2 separate regions of the Homo sapiens genome follow, and region 2 is linked to region 1. Evidence: promoter capture Hi-C in 16 types of primary human blood cells and fetal thymus (Javierre and others, 2016). All regions are on one chromosome and are shown on one strand. Each heading gives the region's core, a stretch centred on a gene start or on the middle of the fragment in contact. The rest is flanking DNA. Distances are from core to core; before and after follow the strand shown. Region 1 holds the start of PYGO1 (pygopus family PHD finger 1). Region 2 overlaps NEDD4 (NEDD4 E3 ubiquitin protein ligase).

Region 1 (6,900 bases), core at 3,319-5,818:
GGATTACAGGCATAAGCCACCACACCTGGTCCCACGTTAATGTTCAACACTTTGAAATGTGGTTTCCTCCTAAAAACTGCCTTCTCAAAATCACAAGAGACCTCCTAGACCCTTTCTCACATTTTTATCTCCTCTGATGCTTTCTGTACATCACTTAAGACAAAAGAACACTCACTACTTCTTAGAATTCTTCTCCTTCCTTGATTCCCCAAAAGATGTGTTCCTTTATTTCCTATAAATAATCACAGCCCTTATCATGCTATTTGTAGCTATTTATTTGTCACTGTCCTGTACTAGACTTAACAATTTCTTGAAGACAGGTGTCATACCTTTTTTTTTTTTTTTTTTTGGTGGGGGCAGATAGGGTCTCACTCCAATTGCCCAGGCGGGAGTGGAATGGTGCGATCTCAGCTCACTGCAGCCTCAACCTCCCTGGGCTCAGGTGATTCTCCCACCTCAGCCTCCCACGTAGCTAAGACCACAGGCACATGCCACCACGCCCAGCTAATTTTTCGTACTTTTAGTAGAGACAGGTTGTCGTCCAGGCTGTTCTTAAACTCCTGGAGTCAAGTAATCCACCTGCCTCAGCCTTCCAAGGTGCTGGGATTACAAGCGTGAGCCACTGCGCCCAGCCAGGTGTCATATCTTAATTAGTGCATTCCCACTATATGGCACTGTGATTGCTCTATAAATATTTGTTGAATAAATGAATGAATATTGCCATCAGATCAATGCCTAAAAGAGTTCTAGGAATACTGGAGAATGGGAGTATTGGTTAAAATAACGATGGCAGTTGACATTCTAAGGGAAAAGGGCAAGTAAAAGTAGTATGAGGGGAAATGGACTATCAGAAAGCAGCATAATTCATGTATTCACTCATTCATTCATTTGACATTTACTATGGGCAAGGCAAATAAGATAATCAAGACATAGTACCTGTCCTCATAGATCTGTCTTATAATCAAAAGGTGAAGGTTTGGGGGTGGAGTGTTAAGAACTGGTAGAAAATAGGAGTAAGATACTGTGTCACTAAAGAGTAATTCTAAATCTATTGTTAAAATATAAGGACAGTTTGGAAGACCACAGCCAGCTGCTTCTGGTCTACTCACACCTTTATAATCTAGGTCTATTAGTGGCATTTCTCAAACTTCAGTATGCATAAGGAGCACCTGGGGATCTTGTTAAAGATGCAGAAGTCCCAACTCTGTGGATCCCAGAAGTCCTGATTCCGTAGATCCACGAATCTATATTTTAATAAGCATCACAAGTGATTATGATGCTTTTGGTCTGCAGAGCATGCTACTGTAAAGTCCTCAGTCATTCATGTTTTAGTTTTGCCATATCTGAGTTCTACCTATAATATTACTTTCTTAATAATTCATGTAATTGCTATATGTGTGTTAATAATTCATTTAAATTGCTATATGTGTGTATTTATACACATATGTATCTTAGCCTTATCCTAAGCAAGGTATTTGGTGACTCTTTTAATACATATAAAATAAATACACAACCATTAAAAAGGTCTGTCTCTATCACATCAGCAGATGGGAAACAGTTTGAAAAGCACTGCTCCAGAGTTTATGCCCTGCAAACACCACATCCTGCATGCAGTCTGATGATATAAATTACATTAAATAACAAAAAGCTCCAGGGCAATGAAGTTCAGCAGAATGGTGCTTCAGAAGAGCTAATCATAAAATATTCCAAAAAATTTTTTAATGAATGTTCTAATTATTACAAAATGACATTAAGAAAATTCTCCCCATAACATAAAAATACTGACTTTTTATTTTAAAAAGTGTTTTGTCTTTTATTCTGGTACTTAACTCTCAGAATATTCTTGAGCTGACACCGGAGCCAACCCCAATAGCTACGCCATAGAACTTAACAGCAGTTGGAACAAAATGAAGATATATCTGTGTTCTTGACCCACAATAAAACACTCATCCATTTTATTTAGAATTAAATTTGATTAGGACTGATAATTCAGTTCAAAGGTATAAACTTGATAGCTCTTTCTTTTCCTTTAACCCCAAAACAATTTATAATAGTAGGCAAAATTATACAGCACAAATATCAGGGGAATAATTGTATCTCAGGAAGGTCTATTCCTTAAAGGCTTTGGCAACTCACAACCACAAACAGAAAAAGACAATTAAAATATTTCACCAAATTAAAGGTTGTGCTGATATTAAGCCTTTAAAAACAATATTCTCTAAATTATGTTTTCTCTTAAATGGCTAAGAAAATCATTTTCTACCAAAATACTCTTGAGTGGATGTCTTTTGGATTGTGTGTCACAAGCTAGTTCTATACATGTTTAATTTCTAGTCACATTGAACAAAAACAAAAATGAATGACTGTGGTCCTTCATCTCTACATCACTTAAGTCAGCCGGAAATTTACCTTCCTACTTACTGATTTATAAAGCATTTTACCCTGTTTACCCTGTTTGGATGACTATTGCAATCACCTCCCTACTAGTCTCCCCTGCTTCAGCCTTTTCTCTACAGTCTATTCTCCGCACAGCAGCTTAAGATGCCCTGTTTAAAATGTCAGATCACTCACTCTTATGCTCAAAACTCTGCAGACCTTTTCTCAGAGTAAAAGCCAAAGTCTTTTAAATGGCACACCAGGCCCTCTAATACACAATCATCCTATAGCCGGCAGCATTAAGACTACTGAACGACTGTAATTTTACTATTAAAATGCTATAATTTAAAAATGTACTCTTAATGATATCTATCACCTTTGCTCACTTTTCAAGAATCAAATAATTCTTGATCCTACTCCTTAGCCCCTGTCACAGGACTCTTTCCTTGCTCACTTTGCTGCAGTTACAATAGCTTCTTTGCTGTTGATTGCACACACTGGGCATATTCCAGACACAGGGGCTTTGCATTTGCTGTTGCTTTTCAGAGACTGCTCTTCCCACGTGAATTCATATGGCCCTGGCTCTATCATTTCCTTTAGGTCTTTGCTCAAACATTATCTACCAGGTGAGCCCTTTCATGATCACCTTACATACAATCCATACTTCCCATCCCCACACATATTTCCTCTCCTCTATTCCTGTTTTGTTGTCCACCATACCACCTACGATTTGACATTCTGTATCTACTGTTTATCATTTGTTTATCCCACAAGAGGGTGAACTCCTACTGGATGAAGATTGTCTATCTGCTTTGTTCACTGCTGTATCCCAGTAACAAGAACAGTGTCTAGCACATAGTAGATGTTCAATAAATATTTGCTTAATGAACAGTGAGTACTACTCCAACTCTAGAACTTTCAGTCTTAACCTTATTAAGAGCTAAAAGGCATCCCCCAATTTCCGGGTGGCATTTGACTTTTGTGAACTTATATGCAGTATCTTTTGTTTGACACATGGTTCCCTCTGATTTTTCTTAGATGATAGTAACACGAAAGGAAAATTCCTAACCAGTGCGCAAGAAAGAAGAAAATCAACCATGCATAACACTGATTTTAGATAATATCTTATCCATAAACCAACAGAGAAAATGCCTTCTGAATTTGTAGCTTCTCCTCTTAAACCTACGGAAAATAAACTGAATATTTGTTGCCTTTGCCGGGGTGGGGGGGCGAGAAGGGGGCCAGGAGAGACGTGAAAGCCCAGGAGCCCTTCTTCAACAGCATCAACTCTTGTGTACTCCAACTTACTTTTTTTGAGGGGGTGGGCACCGTTCGAGGTCTCTGCCAGGGGGTGTCTGTTTTTCACCCTTTGAGGTGCCTATTGTGCTGTCTTGAGAACGAGGAGAGGTGGGTGAGGAGGGGGTAAGAAAGGATGCTGCTTGCGGCTCCAACTGCCTCCGAACACAAAGTCGGGAGGCGAGGGATCCGCGCGGATGTCTCGGGGGCCAGCGGGCGCCCGGGCCGCGCGCTCGGATCGCAGCCTCGGCCCCGGGGTGCCGGCGGGACGCGGGCTGCGCGGACTTAGGCCCGGACAGAGCCCCATGGCCTCCCGGCGGCCGGGCACGGGGCCCCGCGCACCTCACTCACCCCGGTTCCCCCAATCCGGCACCCTTCTCGGTTACCTCGAACTCTCTTCAGCGAAATGGGATCCTTCTCCTGTTCTGCTGACATTACAGACCGCAAAGCATGACTCCCCCCCAGGCCGCGGGAATTCGGTCTCTTTGATGCTGCGGCGGCGGCTCCTCCTCCTCGCGGGGCCGCTGCGGCTGCGAGGCAAGCCTCGGAGCCGAGGCACGGCCGAGGGCGGTGGGGACGCGGGCCGACTTTGCAAAGTTTGGGAGGAGGACGAGGCCTCGGGGCGGCGGGGCGGCGGGGCGGCGTGCGGGCACCGGCGGGGCTCAGCGGCGGTGGCCGGGAGCGCGGCCTGGGGGCGGCCCCCCACCCGGGGCCGGCATGTGCTGAGGGCGAGTGCGCCGCCGCCGCCGCCGCCTCCTCCCACTCCTTCTTCTTCGCCGCCGCCTCAGGAGCCGCTGACAGGGGAAGCAGGAGGCTCGCGGCCCGGCCCTGGCGGCACACTCACAGCGCCCTCTGAGGAGGAGGTCTGCTCTCTCGCCGCTCCCGAGTCGCAGACACAAAAGCCCCCAGACTGGAGCCGCCTGTAAAACCCGCTCTGGGGCGGGCGAGGGACGTGGCGCGGCCCCGCGGCTTCCCCGCCCTGAGCTCCCCAGCCCCGCGCGGGGACGGGCTTCGGGGGGCGGGGGCCGCTGCCTCGTCCCGCGGCGCCTCCCGCCACCGCCGCCGCCTCGCGCTCCGCCTCGGCCCAGCCCCCACGGCCCGCGCGCGCCTCTTGCTCCAAGCCGGGGCTCGCGGGCCCGCGGCTCTTGCAGCCCGGGTGGGCAGCGCGCGCCTAGGGGCCGCCCCGCCCCGCGCCCGGCGCTCCCTCGCCGACCGCCAGGCCCGAGAACGCCCGACCCCGCGGCCGACGCTACCGGGCCCAGCTTTCGCAAGGAAAGGGCATCTCCGAACTTCGTCGGAGGCCACAGCAGCAGGCGTCTCGGCCTCGCAGCTAGGGATCGGAAAGATGAACGTACCATGCGAGGAAACTTTGTAAGCGGGAGCTGGAGAGTTCTCGGCGGGCATGTGGGGATCCAGATTCCCCGACTCCGTGTCCGCGTGGCCGTGGTGTGGACACCTGTCTGTAGAATGCCTCCACTTGGTATTTTAACGACTTGACTCTTCAAGAAAGAGCGACGTAGAATAAATACCAGAAAGGACGGTGGGCGGGGGAGGGGGGAGCGTGGGTAGAAGCGGTGACGCGGCTGGATCTCATTTAGACGTTAAATTTTAGGAGGAACACCCCCAGTGTGATTGTAAATTAGATGTGATCACCGGTCCACATTCTTCAGTTGGGCTGTGTGACCGGAGGCGACTTAGGTAACCTCTCTGGGTCTCAGTTTTCTTGTCTATAAAAGGCAGTGGGGCTACATCTCGAAGGTCTCTTCTAGCTCCGACATTGTTTAACGCACTTCTACGAAATTGTTTTCCCTGGTTTTTGTTTTTTGTTTTTTGTTTTTGTTTTTGTTTTGCTAGGTTTTCTGGTTATCCACTGGGCTTATTTTGATGTAAGAATCACCGAAAAGCACTCATGAAGCGTGGGAGGACACAGAACTAGCTACAGACAGGAGTCTCGTCCTTCCGGAGACAGACACCCAACTCATTCAGCTGCACAGTGTCACAGAGAACAGATGTTAACATGAAGCCAATGTACAGCCTCAACAGCTGCATACCAGACAATCGCCACAGCGGCTGATCGTCGTTAAGACATAGCGTGGCCGGAGGCAAATGTTACCCTTTATCTAATAAGGGTGGTCTGGAATTATGGAATTCCTGATTAGAAGAGTCAGACTAGGACAGGCTAAGGAAAATATTCTTACAGGAAGCACTCTGAGGAGAAGGTTCCTCCTAACTAGAATGTAAGCGCCATGCAGGCAGGAATTTTGACTGGCTCACTGCTGTATCCTCTGGTACCTAATACTGAGTAACACATAGTAAGTGTTCGGGAAAATATTCATTGATGTATGAATAAAGAGATTTGAAGTGGCCCTGGGACGACTGGGGTGGCAGGGCTTTGGTAAGTGTAATAAAGCCGAAGCAAATGGTAATATAATAAAGCAGATTGGGGGCCGGGCGCGGTGGCTCACGCCTGTAATCCCGGCACTTTGGGAGGCCGAGGCAGGCGGATCATGAAGTCAGGAGATCAAGACCATCCTGGCTAACACGGTGAAACCCCGTCTCTACTAAAAATACAAAAAAAAAATTAGCCGGGTGTGGTGGCGGGCGCCTGCAGTCCCAGCTACTCGGGAGGCTGAGGCAGGAGAATGGCGTGAACCCGAGAGGCGGAGCTTGCAGTGAGCCGAGATCGCGCCACTGCACTCCAGTCTGGGTGACAGAGTGAGACTCTGTCTCAAAAAAAAAAAAAAAAAAAAATTAAAAATAAAGCAGATTGAATCTAATAATCTATGTTATAGGGTGGTTGGAGGAAAATTTGAAAGCACTTTGGTAAGTCAACAAAGAAATGAAGGCCAGCTGTGGTGGCTCACGCCTGTAAATCCCAACACTTTGGGAGGTTGAGGCGGGAGGATCACTTTAGCCCAGGAATTTGAGACCAGCCTGGGTAACAAAGCTAGACCCTTCTCTACAAAATAATTTTTAAAAATTAGCCAGGCGTGGTGGCACCGGCCTATAGTCCCAACTACTCAGGAAACTGAGGCAAGAAGATCCCTTAAGCCCAGGAGTTCAAGGTTGCAGTGAGCGATGATTACACCACTACACTTCATCCTGGTTAACAGAGCAAGCAAGACCCTGTCCCCCCTCCAGAAAAATATGGAAATGACATATTTTCATTTTATAACTCTTAGTGGAAGGAGAATGGTTCAGAAAAATCATTGCTAAGAGATTTTGAGT
Region 2 (6,900 bases), core at 3,730-6,229, 240 kb after region 1:
GCAAGGTGCCTGAAATCCAGTCCATTTTTAGCTATTATTTTTATCTTCTGGCTATTTCACTAACAACCAGACTTATGCAATACGACCTTTTTGTAAAGTGGAAATTAATTATCTGTGGTTGAGAGTTTATAATCATGTTAGTTCATCAGGTAATAAGTTTAGGATTGCACTGAAAATTTAACGTGCTGCTGTGAGGAACTAGACCAGAAGACATCACCCAGCATACTGACTTGGAAACACTCCTATTTTATAATGAACCACAGTTTTGTTTTGTTTTTTAAAATCAGAATAGAACTTTATTTGTGGATTCAAGATTTTAAAAAATGATTTTACACTTTAAAGTGTGCAATAAATTTTGATACATCAATCTTGATATATATATTTACTGTGTCAGAAGATTTTAAAAAGTCAAATAGTTTATAATCAAAATGAATTGTGTTTAACTTGATACTTATATGGAATAACTTCAGCATTATAAATAAAAACCCAAAACAAACACCATTTAAATTTGAGTTCTGATGAAATGCATTTGTAATACAATTTTGTTAAAAATTTTTAATAAGAGATTGTAGGCTAAAGTTATATGCTTGTAATTTCTAGAAACATATGATGTCCTTGCTTTATGAAAATGATCCTACTGACTGTCCCGCAGTAGAATGCATTTGAGACACTTTTCTATCTGGGATAAGGGGCTGTGTTGCTTGATAGATGTTTCTTCCAGACCACGAGCCCCTAGTGGGAGATGAAGGGGATGAAGGTCTGCAGCTGGGGACTGGTGGCAGTTGAGTCTGGTCTCATTTAACATCATGTTCTATGAGTCACAGAATCATCCAAATGAGTATCAGCCAGATACAAAGAAAGCTTTGTATTTTCTCATGCTTAGATAGTTCACAAACATAATATTTAAATAATTGTGGCAAAATCCTGTTTTAACAAAAATAATTTTCACATTCCATTCTACATAATGAGGACATTTCCAAAATGCATTGGCCCACATTACTATTACTTTGCTGATATGAAGAAAATGAATTATGATGGTAAGATCCATATACAGATATACACATGTGTATCCATATTATTTATATATTTAATATCAGAAATGTTCCTACTTCCTTGTCTCTTAGAAGTCACTTTACTTTTAAATGATTCTTTGGGAGTGTGGTCAATTTGCACACCTGACTTGACACAATCTGACGGTCAGCACAAAGCACCTTCTGATTGTATAACACTTTACAAAGTACTTTTTGCTTTCTCATCTGTCTGGAACTTCTGACAATCTGGCATGACAATGAGGGTGGGCATGATTACTCTCATTTGACAGATGAAGAAATATGAATCCAGAGAGGTTAAGTAAGCTGCTTCAGTTCACATGGCTGGTGAGATATCAAACCAGGACTATACCTGGTGCTCATCCTTGACTGCTGGTTGACAATGGTGAAGACAAAACGCAGGGTACATTAATCTGTGAATTGCTTCCCCTAAACCATGCTGATGCTGTGGTGTTTGGAAAGTAGAAAGTGGTTTTGCTACTGTCACATTTCAGATTTCTATCAGGTGCTAATGAGTACTCATCATGTTATACCCCAACAAACTTAAACCAAGAACCAGAGGTACTTTTTACAGTTCTCACAGGGTGTGTATATATATATATTTAAGAAGATTCGTAACATATATTTACAATTATTCCTAAATCACCAAGATACCATACTGAGAAATAGGTTTAATCTTTTTAAGAGCATTTTCTATATAATCATTCCAATATAAGGATGAAACAATATAAGTATGAAATATAAATACAGTCTTGGCACACTTTATCTTTGCAGGTGTGCTGGAACCTAGAACACTTTCCCTTTTGCCTTATTCTGCTTACGCCTACTTTTGATTGTTTTACAAATTCATAGACACATTTGCAAGTTCCTTGAGGATCAGGACTCAGCTTCTCTGAAGCTGACAACTCTTACCCCAGAGCATAGCACAGCGCTAGGCACGCAGCATTCAATAAACGTTTGATGAATACATGTACATGGTCTTTATGTACTTCAGTTTGGTTAAAGGAAGATATGAACTGTAGCATTTTGCCTACAGAATTCTGGATTTGTAATTAAAAACATTGTCTTCATAGTAAACAGTATTTTAAAAGGCATAAGAAATAGTAATAAATTTAATACAAATTATGCATTATAACAACTCTTTGGTTATTTTAAACAAATTATTTGGTTTTTTTACTAGAGTGATACTAAAAATATAAAAATGCGACTACAGAAATTAGCTTAATCTGTAAACATGATAAACCCTGTAAACATACATTTACTACATAATTGTACAAGTGTAAAGAATATCTAGTAAAGGCAAGTGCTATACACTTCATTTAGTTCTTCAAGGCATATTTAGAAATACTGCTTTGTGGATCTTTAATGTTTGAAGAAGGAATTCTTCTAACTACACTAAAATATGAAAAAGTGATGACTATACCAATGGTCAATAGGATATGCAGGCAAGAGAAAGGCTTTAATACTTTTTACCCATTGCAAATATGAATTTGCTTCACATGTCTTATGAACCATCTGTTTAGTAAAACTGCATATTAACAAAAGCCAAATACTTCGAAAGTGAAGAAGTAAACAGTTTTTCTGTGAGTTAGTTGGCTAGAAATATAGGTAACACACTTTCCAAAGTTTTTTCCCAAAAATCTAGGCAGTAAGGTGCATAAGGCAGGTCTACAAAATAATAAATAGCTGCGAGTAGCACTAAATATATTGTAGTTTACTCAATAGTAAAGTATTTCTTTTTCCAAATTTCAGTTTTCCATCTCAAAATGCATCAAACTTTTCACACATGACACGTATCACAAATATTTCACAGTTATCATCTCAGTAGTTTAAGAAAAAACTGCCTGGCAGATACTATACAAGAGGTAAATGTTAAGGACAAAATTCACTATTTAAGTCATACAGGACTTATATCCTATTGTGTGAACTCTAAAGCCAGGTGTGGTGGTGCCTGGCTTTAGGCAGGCACCTAACTCTAAAGACAGCATGAAACAACTGTGTAAATGCAACACATTATTTAAAAGTGATTAAAAATAAGTTGTCGTACTATTTCTTCAAATGCTTTTTATATGATTTTCTTCAAGATCTGGGAAGACTCAGTGGCCACATTTTAGTAGTTCCCCGGAAAATTTTAAGTCAAGATTTTGGTTATAAAACTATGGCAGTAAAAACACTACAGATTGTTATTTGTAATCTAATCAACTCCATCAAAGCCCTGGGTGTTTTCAATTGCCATCTGAAGTTTATCCCATAATTCTTCAAATGATTCATAAGGTGGCAAGTCCAGGCGATTAAAACTGAAAGAACAGAGAGGAAGTGGTTATGAAAGACACTGACAAAGCAAGTACCACCACAGCAAACAGAGCAATGCTGCTATTCTTGATGAGAATGTTCCAACACCACCAAAATATGTCTTTTCACCAGGGGTAGAAGTAAGACGTAGGACTGGGTTCTGGGCATGGATACTCTGCACAACTCCTTGTGGAGTGCTGCCCCCACCACATCTTCCAAATGTCTGAGTTCTCTGCCACTTCAGCCTCCAAGATGGAATGTTCTAGCCTGTCTTGGGACAGCCCATCACTCATCACTCAGTTTAGGTGGGTCTCTCTGATCTTCAGCTACCTGGACTTCAAGCTTGGGCCAACTTGGTAACAAAACACCTGTTCGTTGGGTGTCACCAACTCCTTCTTACCCATAATCCATACCTGCCACCGACATAACACAGAGGAGACTAGCCCTGCTGTGGCTAGACTAACAGAGGAATCTCACTCTCTGAGGCTTTGTTCTATCAAGGTCCAAACAACTGCTTACCAGGTATGAGCTCTTGGCAGCTTTTCAGGAGTACCCCACTGTTCAACTGTAAATGACTGTGGTCCATTTGAACCTATAAGGAAGAATTTATTTGGTTTCATTTACTCTCTACAAGGATCTCCAGGCATATCAAAACTTTTTCTAGTGTACACTAGTTCCTACACACACACAGGGAACTAATCTGGTTTATTTATTTATATTTTAGAGATGGGGTATCCCTCTGTCACCCAGACTGGAGTGCAGTGGTACGATTCAAGCTCACTGTAGCCTCAAGCTCCTGGGCTCAAGTGATCCTCTTGCTTTAGTCTCCTGAGTAGCCAGGACTACAGGTGTGCACCACCACGCCTGGCTAACTGTTAAAAAAATTCATTTTGTAGAGATGGGGGTCTCACTATGTTGCCCAGGCTGGTCTTGAACTCCTGGCCACAAGCCATTCACTCTGTCACCCAGGCTGAAGTAAAATGGCATGATCTCGGCTCAATGCAACCTCTGGCTCCTGGGTTCAAATGATTCTCATGCCTCAGCCCTCCCAAGAAGCTGAGATTCCAGGAGTGTGCCACCACACCCAGCTAATTTTTGTATTTTTACTAGACATGGGGTTTCACCATGTTGGCCAGGCTGGTCTCAAACCCCTGACCTCAGGTGATCTGCCTGCCTCAGTCTCCCAAAATGTTGAGATTACAGGCATGAGCTACCGCACCCAGCCGCCTTAACATACTTTTTATTGGCTATCTAATATTGTAATTTTAACATTTTGAAATAACTTCTTCCTATAAATACATAAGAATTTGACTTTGTATTCTAAGAATTTGACTTTGTATTCTAACACAAACAACTCTGGCTCTATGTGTGGGATATTTGCCCCAAATTTCAAACAGTGCATGAAATCAGTGGATGGCTATGGGGCTGGGTTACATAGAAGAGAGAAGAGAGGCCAGAGACGGAAAGGGGCATTTGTTTGCCCTGCCTTCATTTTTCGCTACTAACTTGTTAAAGTAGAGAAGATGGAGGAAGGGGAGTCAGGTGAAACCATGAAAAAGAAAGAGGCTATCAAGTCCAATTAGGCAAAGAATGACTGAATTGGTTACTGGCAAAGCTAACCACTTTGAGTGGTTACTCTAGGTAGAGAGGTAGCAGCTGCTTGATCAGTTCTGCAAACTCATATTAATGAGGCTTGGCAAGCTGACCAGATTTGCCATGGAGAAGAAAGGTTTAGCTATCCCATCATATGGTCAGCTTCTATTTGCACAAAAAATTCAGCTTAGCAATTTCCTAGGCAGCAGTCCCGACTTGTAGTCCCCAGGTCAATCCTAATCTTACTCATTGTTCTGAGTAGGCCTCCTACTTTAGGTACATCCTTTGTAAAAGATTTATTCTTGGATTCTTGGTTTCCTTAAAAGCAAGTAAATATCATTCCAATAAACAGAATATGAATCAATATGAGAAAAGTTGCTGTAATCTACATCAGAAATGGCACTTTTAAACAAAACACACTTCCAGTTTTATACATCAACTGGAAAATAATTTGATAGAATACATAGAATCTTACTTTACCGAAAACTGCATTAACTATTCTGAAAATCAAGAGATATGTAGTCTTCCCAGTCCTGCTGCCTCCCACAAGAAATGAAAAATAGTAGCCTAATGAGATTCTCCACCCCTATCTTGAAAAAAAAAAAAAAAAAAGATTTCATGATCAAATAAGTTTGGGAAACAATGCTTTTGTTTTCTTCTAACAGTAAAGGTTCTACAGAAGTCCTGAAGAAATCCATTTAACTTTGTTTAGTCCAGCATTTCCTTAAAGGTATTCAACCATGACTCTGTTTTTATTTTTTTAAAAATACACTTAGTAACATTCTGTGAAACTTCAAATGCTATCCTGAACTATCACATTAGAAGTAATGCTTTTTCTTTTTTTTGAGACAGGGTCTCAGTCTGTCACCCAGGCTGAACTACAGTGGTGCGATCTTGGCTCACTGCAACGTCCGCCTCCTGGGTTCAAGCAATTCTCCTGCCTCAGCCTCCCAAGTAGCTGGGACTACAGGTGTGCACCACCAAGCCCAGCTAATATTTGTATTTTTGGGTAGAGACGGGGTTTCACTGTGTTGGCTAGGCTCATCTTGAACTCCTGACCTCAAGTGATCTGCCTGCCTCGGCCTCCTGAAGTGCAGGATTACAGGTGTGAGCCACCCCTCCCGGCCAAGGTAATGCTTTTTCTGTAACGGATGCATACTGGGCATAGAATTTGAAGTTAAAGAACGGAAAGTGACTCAAGTCATTTGATGTTTCCAGTTTTCCCCTTTATTATCTGATTAGAAGGTGTAAATATATTTTAGCCTACTCCAGTGTCCCTAATGGTATCACTTTCAAAATCTTAATTCTTTTTAAAATTAAGCTAAGTGTTAGTAAATGATGGAAGCTTGCGGATTCGTCAGCCATGAAAAAGACAATACGCATTATTCCATTTTTTTAATGATCTATGGAAAATCCTTACCGTATAGTTCAGCAAATCCATTCATAGGCACCCGAGATGTGCCAGTGACAAACTGAAGTAATCTTATTCTTTTTTCTGAATCCATCATTAAAACAGCCTGAATAAGATAAAAACATCATTTAGGGAACAGCACTGGGAAAGAGGTAAACAAATTATCCTGAAACATAAGCTATCGGAATTTAGAATATTAATAATCCCTTACTAGATGTGGATGTTTCTTTCAGTTAAATTTTTGTTTATAGATGGTTTATAAAGTTCTTGAAAACTTTATTTCTAAGGCTACATGTCAACTTTTTAGAATGGGATTATAACCTAGTGAAGTAACAAAATTTCTCTTGAGATGTGACTCATGACTTTTAAAAATTATATGCTGGGTGCAGTGGCTCATGCCTATAATCCCAGCACTCTGGGAGGCTGAGGTGGGTGGATCACTTGAGGTCAGGAGTTTGAGACCAGCCTGGCCAACAAGGTGAAACCCCGTCTCTACTAAAAATACAAAAAAAAATAACTAGGCATGGTGGTGCATGCTTGTAATCCCAGCTACTC

Evidence for each region. The method cuts DNA at HindIII sites, captures the fragments that hold promoters and counts their contacts. A CHiCAGO score of 5 or more calls a contact.
Region 2: a fragment that was not itself captured here is called in contact with the fragment with the promoter of PYGO1 in region 1 in 1 of 17 cell types (M1 macrophages); the score reaches 5.3 in M1 macrophages.

What each region holds. Positions count from the first base shown.
Region 1 is chr15:55,583,777-55,590,676 of GRCh38, forward strand. It overlaps PYGO1 (pygopus family PHD finger 1), which reads right to left and starts at 4,569. Exons shown (of 3, transcript NM_001367806.1): 1 at 4,059-4,569. The coding sequence starts at 4,107. LOC124903497 (a long non-coding RNA gene) reads left to right here and starts at 4,774. Exons shown (of 2, transcript XR_007064647.1): 1 at 4,774-5,043; 2 at 5,527-6,900. RefSeq lists silencers at 4,341-4,390, 4,471-4,590. The HindIII fragment of the contact is 18,242 bases long and covers 1-6,900 here.
Region 2 is chr15:55,826,654-55,833,553 of GRCh38, forward strand. It overlaps NEDD4 (NEDD4 E3 ubiquitin protein ligase), which reads right to left. Exons shown (of 29, transcript NM_006154.4): 27 at 6,355-6,451; 28 at 3,861-3,933; 29 at 269-3,346. The coding sequence ends at 3,244. Among named protein-coding and RNA genes, the nearest start is that of PRTG, 87 kb to the left of the region's middle. The HindIII fragment of the contact is 2,596 bases long and covers 3,682-6,277 here.